Regions from separate parts of the Homo sapiens genome. Here all the other regions are linked to region 3. The links are contacts of gene promoters, found by promoter capture Hi-C in blood cells and fetal thymus (Javierre and others, 2016). All regions are on one chromosome and are shown on one strand. Each heading gives the region's core, a stretch centred on a gene start or on the middle of the fragment in contact. The rest is flanking DNA. Distances are from core to core; before and after follow the strand shown. Region 1 overlaps NUP214 (nucleoporin 214). Region 2 overlaps NUP214 (nucleoporin 214). Region 3 holds the start of TTF1 (transcription termination factor 1).

Evidence for each region. The method cuts DNA at HindIII sites, captures the fragments that hold promoters and counts their contacts. A CHiCAGO score of 5 or more calls a contact.
Region 1: a fragment that was not itself captured here is called in contact with the fragment with the promoter of TTF1 in region 3 in 1 of 17 cell types (monocytes); the score reaches 6.5 in monocytes.
Region 2: a contact is called between a fragment that was not itself captured here and the fragment with the promoter of TTF1 in region 3, in 2 of 17 cell types (M2 macrophages and monocytes). The highest score is 6.6, in M2 macrophages.

What each region holds. Positions count from the first base shown.
Region 1 is chr9:131,164,708-131,167,835 of GRCh38, forward strand. The region is part of intron 21 of NUP214 (nucleoporin 214); the gene reads left to right. Among named protein-coding and RNA genes, the nearest start is that of NUP214, 41 kb to the left of the region's middle. The HindIII fragment of the contact is 959 bases long and covers 797-1,755 here.
Region 2 is chr9:131,142,392-131,145,945 of GRCh38, forward strand. It overlaps NUP214 (nucleoporin 214), which reads left to right. Exons shown (of 36, transcript NM_005085.4): 12 at 1,889-2,363. Among named protein-coding and RNA genes, the nearest start is that of NUP214, 19 kb to the left of the region's middle. RefSeq lists an enhancer at 1,836-2,337. The HindIII fragment of the contact is 1,959 bases long and covers 996-2,954 here.
Region 3 is chr9:132,405,398-132,408,699 of GRCh38, forward strand. It overlaps TTF1 (transcription termination factor 1), which reads right to left and starts at 1,443. Exons shown (of 11, transcript NM_007344.4): 1 at 1,393-1,443. The HindIII fragment of the contact is 5,870 bases long and covers 1-2,113 here.

The DNA.
Region 1 (3,128 bases), core at 26-2,525, 1.2 Mb before region 3:
TTTTATGAAAAAAGAAGAAAAAAATAAGATTAAGCAATGTTGATTAAAAATACTTACTTAAAAATACTTGCTTAAAGAAGCCATAAATTTTTTTCCCATTACATTACCTAGATAATAACTTCAATTTAAAGAAAAATTTGTGACAATTTTAGGCATAACTGCTTTGTTTTAGTATCCATATCCAAATTTTTCTTTGAGATTCTGTTTTCAGTTAAAATTTTTTTATGCCAATAACAAATGCTTTTGGTAATCAGAATAACTGAAAGAAATTTAATCTTACTGATTTATTTTTCTGTACTCACATAGAGCTAAATTAGATAAATAATAGTCACAGACAAGTTAATTTTCAAATAATTTTTCTTTACCTAAAGAATACATTCTCTTGGTAGGTAATTGGGAAAAATATGGAAAGTATAAAGGAGAATAAAAAATATTAGCTGAGTGCGGTGGCATGCACCTGTAATCTTAGCTCTTCAGGTGGCTGAGGCAGGAGGGTTGCTTGAGCCTGCAGCTGCAGTGAGCTATGGTCATGCCACTGCACTCCAGCCTGAGCAACAGAATCTCTAAAAAAAATTAAAAAGTTAAAAAATTACTCTCTCTCAACCCAGATATGGCCTCACTTAGTTATTTTGGTTTAGTTCCAAACTTTTTTCTTTGCATATGTAAATCTGATTTATTTTAAAATGAAATTGAGATTATAACAGTTTTGTGTCTTGATTTTTTTCTAATTTAAAATTCATGAGCCCTTACTATTAAACAAAATAAATGCTGGTGGTGAAGATATGGAAAAAATGGAAGCTTTGTGCACTATTGGTGGGAATGTGAAATGGTAAAGCCACTGTAGAAAACAGTTTGGTGGTTCCTCAAAAAATTAAAAATGTGATTACTGGATGATCCAGCAATTTCACTTCTGGGTATATACCCCAAATAATTGAAAATAAGGTTTCAAAGAGATACTTTTGTATCCATGCTCATGACAGCATTATTGGTAATAGCCAAGAGGTGGAAACAGTGTGTCTGTTAATGAATGAATGGATAAACAAAATGTCTGTCTATACAATGGAATATTATTCAGTCTTTAAAAAGGAATTTTTGACACATGTTACAATATAAGTGAACCTTGAGGACATTGTGCTAAGTGTCCTCAAATAGACAAATACTGTATGATTCCACTTATATGAAGTATCTAGAGACATCAAATTCATAGAGATGGAAACAAGAATAGGGGTTGCCTGAAGGACTGAGGTGGGGGGTCATGGGGAGTTATTATTTAATGGGTATAGAGTTTCAGTTTTGCACAGGGAAAATAGTTCTGGAGATGGATGGTGGTGATGATTACACAACAATGTGAATGTACTTAATACCAATGAACTGTGTACTTTAAAACACTTAAGATGGTAAATTTTATGTTACATTTTACCAAATTTTAAAAATTGGAAAAAAGATTTAAACTTAAAATCTTAACCTTTTCCTCTGCCTTCTGTGTTTAAATATTCTTTGAACACATGCCTTATAAAGACAGCACAATATTTCCTTGTATTAGAAGGCCATAATGCCTGTTGCTAATCTTGTTGCCAAAATTTTCTCAGAACGTCTTTGTTCACAAATCTTTAGCCCACATCAGATTATATATTTAGATAGAGTCCTTACAAGTGAGATTTATGTAATTTACTTATTCATTCATTCAATAAATATGATTGCCTAGTTTGTTCCAATCAGTGGTAAATAAGAGAAACATGGTCTCTGCCCACATGAAGCTTTTCATTTAAGAGGAGGAATTCAGACATTAAGCAGATAACTGCACATGATACTCATTTAATGTTAGTGGGCATGCTGGGAAGAATAACTCAGCATGTAAACACTTTGAATTTTTAAAATTGTGAAAAACAACACACATTAAGTGCACAAAACAAAAACGTATATCCCTGTAGCCTCTACCCAGGTCAAGAAACAGAATATTGCCGTTTTTTAGAAGCCCTCTTGCATACCCCAGTTTTCCTTCTTCCCCTAAGGCACGATTATATGGGCTTATGTGAGAGTTTTGCCTTTGCCTTTTTTTTTTAATTTGACATTTTTTGTTATTTTTAATTTATTATTTTGAAAAAATTGAAACTTCCAATTGCGAGTACAGTAAGCACCCACTTACCCCTCACCCATATGTTTACTACTGTTTGCCACAATTGTTGCTGAACTATCTGAGAATAAGCTGAAGACAACGCCCCTTATTCCTAAATATTTCAGCATGTGTCCTCCCAAGAACAAAGGTGCTCTCTTACACACCATAATACAGTTTGCAGGTTCAGGAAATTTAACGTATACAGTTATCTCATATACAGTTGATACTCAAATTTTGCCGGCTGTCCCACTTACCCCTACACGTTGATTGGATCTAGGATCCAATCCAGGATTCTGCATTGTGTAAGTTGTCATTCTCTTTAGTCGCCTTTTCTTTGTTTTCCTTCAGAGCTTTACTATGTAAGCATACCTCCCAAAACACTATGATTTGGTTTTGCCTGTTTTTGCATACCACATAAATCCATTCACTTAGTCTCTGGACAGGCTTCTCTTGTTCCACATCAGGCTTGTAAGATCCATCCGTGTTGTTGCCTCTAGCTGTTATTTTAGTTGCTCTGTATAGGATTCTATTGTATGAATATGCTGTATTTGTTTATTCATTTTCCTGTTGGACATGTGCTGCTTTCAGTTTATAGCTATTACAGAAAAGGTTCTGAATATTCCCGTGTGTGTCTCTCGGAGCACATGTGTACTTTTCATTTGGTTACATAGCTAGGAGTGGCATTGTTGGCTCATAGTCTGTCCATATGCTCAGCTTTCATAGACTCTGCCAGGCGGTTTTACTAAGTGGTTGTACTTTATCATCAGTAAATGAGTGTTACAGTTGTTCCACATCTTTGCCAAACTTGATATTGTCGGTCTTTTTTCTTTTAACTATTCTGGTAGGACTCTTTTGTAAAATGTTTTAACCATTTGGATATGTTCTTTTGTGGAGTACCGAATTAAATCTTTTGCTCATTCATTTATTATTGAATACTCTGTCTTATTGATTTGTACATGTTTTTATCAATTCTGGAGACCAGCCTTTGTTGGTTTTGTGAGTTGCAGATACT
Region 2 (3,554 bases), core at 725-3,224, 1.3 Mb before region 3:
TGTAGAAGAGAGCCCCTGCGGGGAGAAAGTCCGTCCCATCAGCTAAGTCTAGCTAAAGCCTACTTCATGGGTTCAGAAGACATTAATGGTTCCACCTGTTTCTACACTGCAGTTCTAAGGATGCTGTATTGATCAGAAGTAGTAGTAGCATGATGGTTTTCCAATAATCAGTTCTGTTTTCAGTGGAAAAAATGCTTTTGATTTATTTAGGGTCTGGTATATATTTTTCATGTCAGTTTACCTAATATGCATGAAAGTGTTTTAACATCTATGTATGTCTTTACAGAAGTTAGTTGTAGCTGGTTCCATATCTATTGTATAAAGAAGTATTAACAGAATAGGTTTGCTTGCATTATTATACTTTCATCAATGTGACAGTTTACTTGGATTTTTGTTTTCAGAAAGTGGTATTTTCATACTTGTATCTAAGTATTACGTTGCATTAGACAAAGTGTCTTCCATGAAGATAAACTGCCATCTTAGCTAATTTGGAACAACCAAGTCCTATTAATATAAATAGAAAATATTGACACAAAGAATTCTTTTCTTATTTAGTTGGTTATTTAATTTAAAGATTAATATTTTTACCTTATGGAAAGTTTGGAAAATAGAAAAAAAAATTATTCATTTTTGAGACAGGGGTCTCACTCTGTTGTGCAGGCTGGAGTGTAGTGGCAGGATCTTGGCTCACTGCAGCCTCTGTCTCCCAAGTCCAAGCGATCCTCCCACCTCAGCCTCCCAAGTAGCTGGGACTACAGGCACAAGCCATCACACCTGGCTGATTTTTGTATTTTTTTTGTAGCAACAGGGTCTCACTTTGTTCCCCAGGCTGGTCTCAAACTCCTGGACTCAAAGGGTCCTCCTGCTTTGCCCTCCCAAAGCTCTGGGATTACAGGCATGAGCCACTGCGCCCAGCCTTCCATTGACTTTTTTTTTTCTTTTTAACCATTTGGATTGCATTAAATATCTTTTTCATTTTTTGCATTATGTTTGTAAGCTTTATTCTTAGAAGAGAAATTACTGGGTCTGTTTTTTACAGTTTTTTATACAATGCCAAAATGTTTTCTTAAAAAAAATACTAGTTACCTACCAGTGATAAAAAGTTTCAGGTTTGTTTTACCCATCCAAACATAAGGGGTTAGACATATTTAAATTCTTATAATTTAGAGGACAAATTAAAAATGTACCTTGTTTATATTTCTTTGATTAGAGAGATTGAATGTGTTTTCTTTATGTGAGTTAGTTTCCCTGTTTATTAGTCCTGAAATTTTAAAATCTCAATTTGTATGAGCTTTTTAAAAAATAGAAAACATCTTATTTGTCATTTGCTATGGATCTTTTTTTTTAGTTCATTACCATTTAGTTATTGTACCTGAGTAGCTATTTTTTACACAAATCTTAACCTTCTCCCTTTGCGATTGTTTTTTTTTTGGTCACTTCTAAATTTATCAAGGTGTTAGATTCTGAGACCTAACATATCTATCAATTTGCCTCCTTTGTTTTGAGATACCTGTATTTATGTGACTTTCTATGTGTATTTATCTGGAATTACTTTTAGTGAAATAAGGTGGAGGTCTGAATTAAAACTTTTTCCTGGTTGTTAATGAAATGTTGCAGTGACTGAACTGTTTTGTGTGCCATAGTAGCACTGAGAAGTCCATGAAGTCCAATTATTCTAATGTCTTTCCTTAGTTTTCCTTCAGTTTCATTTATCTCATGAGACCTGAAAACTCCAACATGAACTGTGTACCCATGTGTTCTTTTTGCTTCTTAAACTAGTAACATTTCTGGCTTTATTCTACCACAAATTCTTTTTCACTTGCTTTCTATTATGTGAACCTCCACTGTTACAGTGTTAACATTTTCCTTCCTTTTTTTGTCACTGCAGGAAGTACTCCCACTACCCCAACCTCCTCTCAAGCCCCACAGAAACTGGATGCTTCTGCAGCTGCAGCCCCTGCCTCTCTGCCACCTTCATCACCTGCTGCTCCCATTGCCACTTTTTCTTTGCTTCCTGCTGGTGGAGCCCCCACTGTGTTCTCCTTTGGTTCTTCATCTTTGAAGTCATCTGCTACGGTCACTGGGGAGCCCCCTTCATATTCCAGTGGCTCCGACAGCTCCAAAGCAGCCCCAGGCCCTGGCCCATCAACCTTCTCTTTTGTTCCCCCTTCTAAAGCCTCCCTAGCCCCCACCCCTGCAGCGTCTCCTGTGGCTCCATCAGCTGCTTCATTCTCCTTTGGATCATCTGGTTTTAAGCCTACCCTGGAAAGCACACCAGTGCCAAGTGTGTCTGCTCCAAATATAGCAATGAAGCCCTCCTTCCCACCCTCAACCTCTGCTGTCAAAGTCAACCTTAGTGAAAAGTAAGTCACTTCTAAAGTTTGATTCTTCTGTGAGTTGGGTAGAAATATTGGATGTTATTTACTAAAAGTAGAGTCACTCTGAGAGGAGTTAACTGAGTAGAATTTTTTTACCCAGAGTGATACTTGCAAATGGCAAAAATTCAACCAACATAAAATACTGGCATTTCATCAGTGAATAGAGTCCAGAAGGGTCTCTTAGCTAGCATTTTATTTTTTTGACTATGGGATTTATATTCAGGTATTTGTTTTGCTTTTTTACGTTACAAATGTAGGAAATATTCCTTATTTTAAAAAAAGAAGCAATCCAGAGTATGCATCCTGGAAGGGAAATGAATCCCTTGTAGTCTTTTTTCCTCCCTGTGTCTACCCTTAACTCTCTCTGAACTGCTGTCTACACAGCCACAAAGTCATCTTGTGACACTGTAAATTGTTAGGTGATTCTTCTGCTTGACAGTCCCTATGAAGCCCCGTGGCTGCTCACTGCTAATTCTTAGGTTGGTATCCAGTTTCCTCCAGATCTGGGTCGGGCAGCTCACTCATTTCTTATTTATTTACTTCTTTATCTTGTTCTTTTCTTCCCACTAGAATGTAAGCTTTTGGAGGGAAGCAATCCCTTATATCTTGTAACCCCTCCCAAGATAACCATGAGTTCCCAAGATAACCATCGAGTATAAGTACTACCAGCTTTTTCCCTACTTGCCTGTACTATCTGTTGTTGCTATGGTGGTGCTGCTGCCACCACAGTTACTGTTAATACTGAATTGGCACACATCCACTTCATGCTAAGGGTTGCATAGTGTTCCATTTTGTTGACTGCACCACAGTTTATCTGACCAGTCATCTAATGCTGGAGTTTAGATTGTCTACAGACTTTTGCTCTTTAGGTGGAACCGACTTTACATTTCCTTTAGGCCATAAGTATCCCAAAGACAGTTCCCTGCATTCCTCTTCCTTTTTCACTCCCCAGAGAAGGTGCTCACTCTCAAAACGAGTTCTCAGTAATTTCCTTGGTAAGAGAAAGTACTAACTCTCCTAAGCATAATTGTGTCCCACCTCCTGTTTAAAACTCAGCTGGAAACAATAGTATTTCATATCATGATAAACTTGGTATTTCATATTGTGATAAACTTAGTTTTGATATTTCCCCTGAATAATTAATTCCTAAATAAGCAGACGAAAAGATAAATGTTT
Region 3 (3,302 bases), core at 193-2,692:
GGGTTTCGCCATGTTGGCCAGGCTGGTCTTGAACTCCTGACCTCAGGTGACCCACCTGCCTCGGCCTCTCAAAGCGCTGGGATTACAGGCGTAAGCCACAGCGCCCGGCCTTGATTTCTTTAAATAACATTTCCCCTTCCATCAGTTCCTTTCCTTCTTTTTTGTAAATACTTCCTAGGCTGCTCTCTGGTCTCTGGAGCCCAGTACAACCTTCTAAATATATAGTCTCTCCCTGCTAAAAACTTTTTAGGGTTCCCCTGTTATTCTTAAGATAAAGTCAAAATCCTCACAGACCTGCAAGAGTCTTCATTTCTTCATAATCTAGCCTAGAGATGGACAGAGGTAAGTCCATGCCCACCTCTCTACCTCTCACTTCTCTCTAGGTTTCAGAAACCCTGCTGTTTTCAGTTCCTAGAATACACTACCTTCCTTTTCGTCTCAGGAACTTTGCAAAAACAGCCCATTCCATCAGGAAAGCTCTTCCTCCGCATTACCTTTCTGCCCTTTAACTGGTCCAAGTATGAAAGCCACTTTCTCAAGAGGACCTCTCTAACTCCTTAGCCGGTCTCATCTTTCTGGTTAACAGTGTTTCCCAACAACCAGCTGCTCCCCATTGCACTTTTGGCAGTTATAATATGATCGGCTTCTTGAGGGCTGGAATCCTGGCCATCTTGCTCCCAAATGGCTCCCCAGTCAGTGCTCGATACATATTGAGAACGGATATGCATTTATCCCCCCTTACTCAGAACATACACTTCCCGCTCTGCAGGTACGTGCCCAAACCTGGTCCCGGATTCTCTCACCGCCTTTGGGGTGCGAGAGAGACCCCGCTCTGCTCCCGGGTGGGCGCTCCAGGGCTGAGACTGGAGGAACTAACCAGATGTGAATTCTGCATCTTCTCACTCCCAAAGACCCAAGCCGCGGCCGGGCGCGGTGGCTCACGCTTGTCATCCCAGCACTTTGAGAGGCCGAGGCGGGTGGATCACCTGAAGTCAGGAGTTCGAGACCAGCCTGGCCAACATGGTGAAACCCTGTCTCTACTAAAAATACAAAAATTAGCTAGGCTTGGTGGCGGGCGCCTATAATCCCAGCTACTCGGGAGGCTGAGGCAGGAGAATCGCTTGAACCCAGGAAGCGGAGGTTGCAGTGAGCCGAGATCGCGCCACCGCACTCCAGCCTGGGCGACAAGAGCAAAACTCCATCTTTAAAAAAAAAAAAAAAAAACACCCAAGCCTCAGTTTCCCCGAGATAAGGCCTGGGGCAAAGACCGCGGCCTGGAGACCTCAGGCCAAAAGGCGGGTCTCCCAGAAGACGGGGAAACCCACCACCCCACGCTGAGTTTTTACGCGCGCATTTTGAAAAACAGAAACAACAAAGGCGCTTTCAACTTACCCTCCGAAAGCGCCGCCACCTTTCTCCCAACCCGGAAGTGCTGCTGTTGAGGAAGCGGAAGTAGTAGTGCGTCGCCTTCCGGCCCCCTCGGCGTCACGCTGCCATGGTAACACGGCTGCCGCTAGGCCTTGGAGGCGCGCACATTTGCCTACCCATTTTCCTTCTGGGTCCTTTAGACGTCAGGTGGGGTAGAGAGTGCTCCTGAAACGAAGAAAGTAGGACAGAATCCCCCTCCATTGACGTACTAATGCATGCGTGCATTCCATTTATTCCAGTTTTTGGTGAACTCCAGGAACAACTTGGGAAGACAGATGACAAATCAACTAAGATAATTTCAGATTATCTTGTAAGGAAAATAAAACAGGGTGACGTGATGGAGAGTGACTAGGGGACGGTGGGTGCTACTTTAGATGTAAGAGAGGGCTCACTGAGGAGGTGACATTTGAACTGAGTTCTAAATGGAAAGGGCAGGCAAAAAATCTAGGCAGAAGAGTGTTCCAGGCTGGAAGTGAGTGCAAAAGTCCTGAACTTGGTTGCTGGAGGACCTGGGACAAGGCCAGAGCAGCTGGAGCACAGAGTGAATCCACACAGTGAACCCACAGGGTGACAGACAGGTCGCACACGCCCAGCCTAAGTGAATGCATGTGAATGCAGGGGAGGGGGTGGGAGAGGAAGTCAGAGGTCTGCAGGGGCTATCTGGTGCAGAGGCTGATGGATGTTAAGCTTGGATGAAGTCTCAGAAGTTTAGAGTTAGCAGGAGCTTTGGAGATCTATCCCAGTCTTCCCATTTCAACAGAGTCCTGAAGAGACTTAGCCAAAAGGGCAGCTTTAACCTGGCCATCAATTCGAGGCCATTATATTTACCAACCAAACGTTTAACCTTTTTGGATAGTGAACATATACGATATAGGCAACAAGTTTTCTCACTTAATCCTTGTAATGAGGTATTATTAGCCCCACCTTGTGGATGAGAAACCTGGGTTTACAGTAACTTGTCCAAGGTGACTTAAATGGGCCAGCCAGAAATCAGACCTATGCTCTTTCTACTACTCCACTATCTTGCCCCTCACTGTTCCACCTGACTTCTATGTGATCTGCCAAGTGGCTTTGATTAAAAAATGCACAAACTATGCTTCCGTGAAAGTCTGGAAGGGAAGCAGGTTGGAGAAACGATGAGCCTATGTATGTACTCATGTTGCCATGCAAGGGCTGCTCTGGGATGTGGACGTGCAGTTGGAGCTCCGTCTGGAGAAGTCTGTAAATGTGGTGTTGTCCACTGTTGATATGGAAGGCCTTGAAGTCCAGGTCCGTCATTGGTGTCACGTGTTCTGTGGTGACCCCACTTACCCAGAGCCTTGTGGTGCTAGTGATGCATGAATGAACCCACAAAAGGCTGGCACTAGAGGAGAGATTAGATATCATCCAGTATCGATTCAGGAAAACTCCAATAGTGGTTTCCAATCCTCCTCCAACTGCACCAATCACCTGGGAAGCTTTTTTTTTTTTTTTTCAAATGCAGAGTCTCAACTTTGCAATGGATTTTATATTAAACACTATTGTATCACATTAAAATCTTCGGACATGATAATGACATTGTAGTTACACATGGGAATGTCCTTGCTACATGATGACGTACTTAGGGTTAAATATGGTGTTGACAGATATTTTTCAGGTGATTCTGTAATGTGTGTATGTGCATGCTCACAGAGAGAGAGCAAGAAAATGTGACCAGTGCTGGGGACGGGTGAATCTGTTAGTCCAAACTGCACCATTTTGTAAGCCCCCTGCCATTTTGCAGACCTTGCTTAAAGTGAAACATTCCACGGGGGTTCAGGCAGTGAGAAACAGCCTGCCTCTTATCATATTCTGCTGGGAGAAAGTGACAGGAACATCACGTTCCACCAGAACAA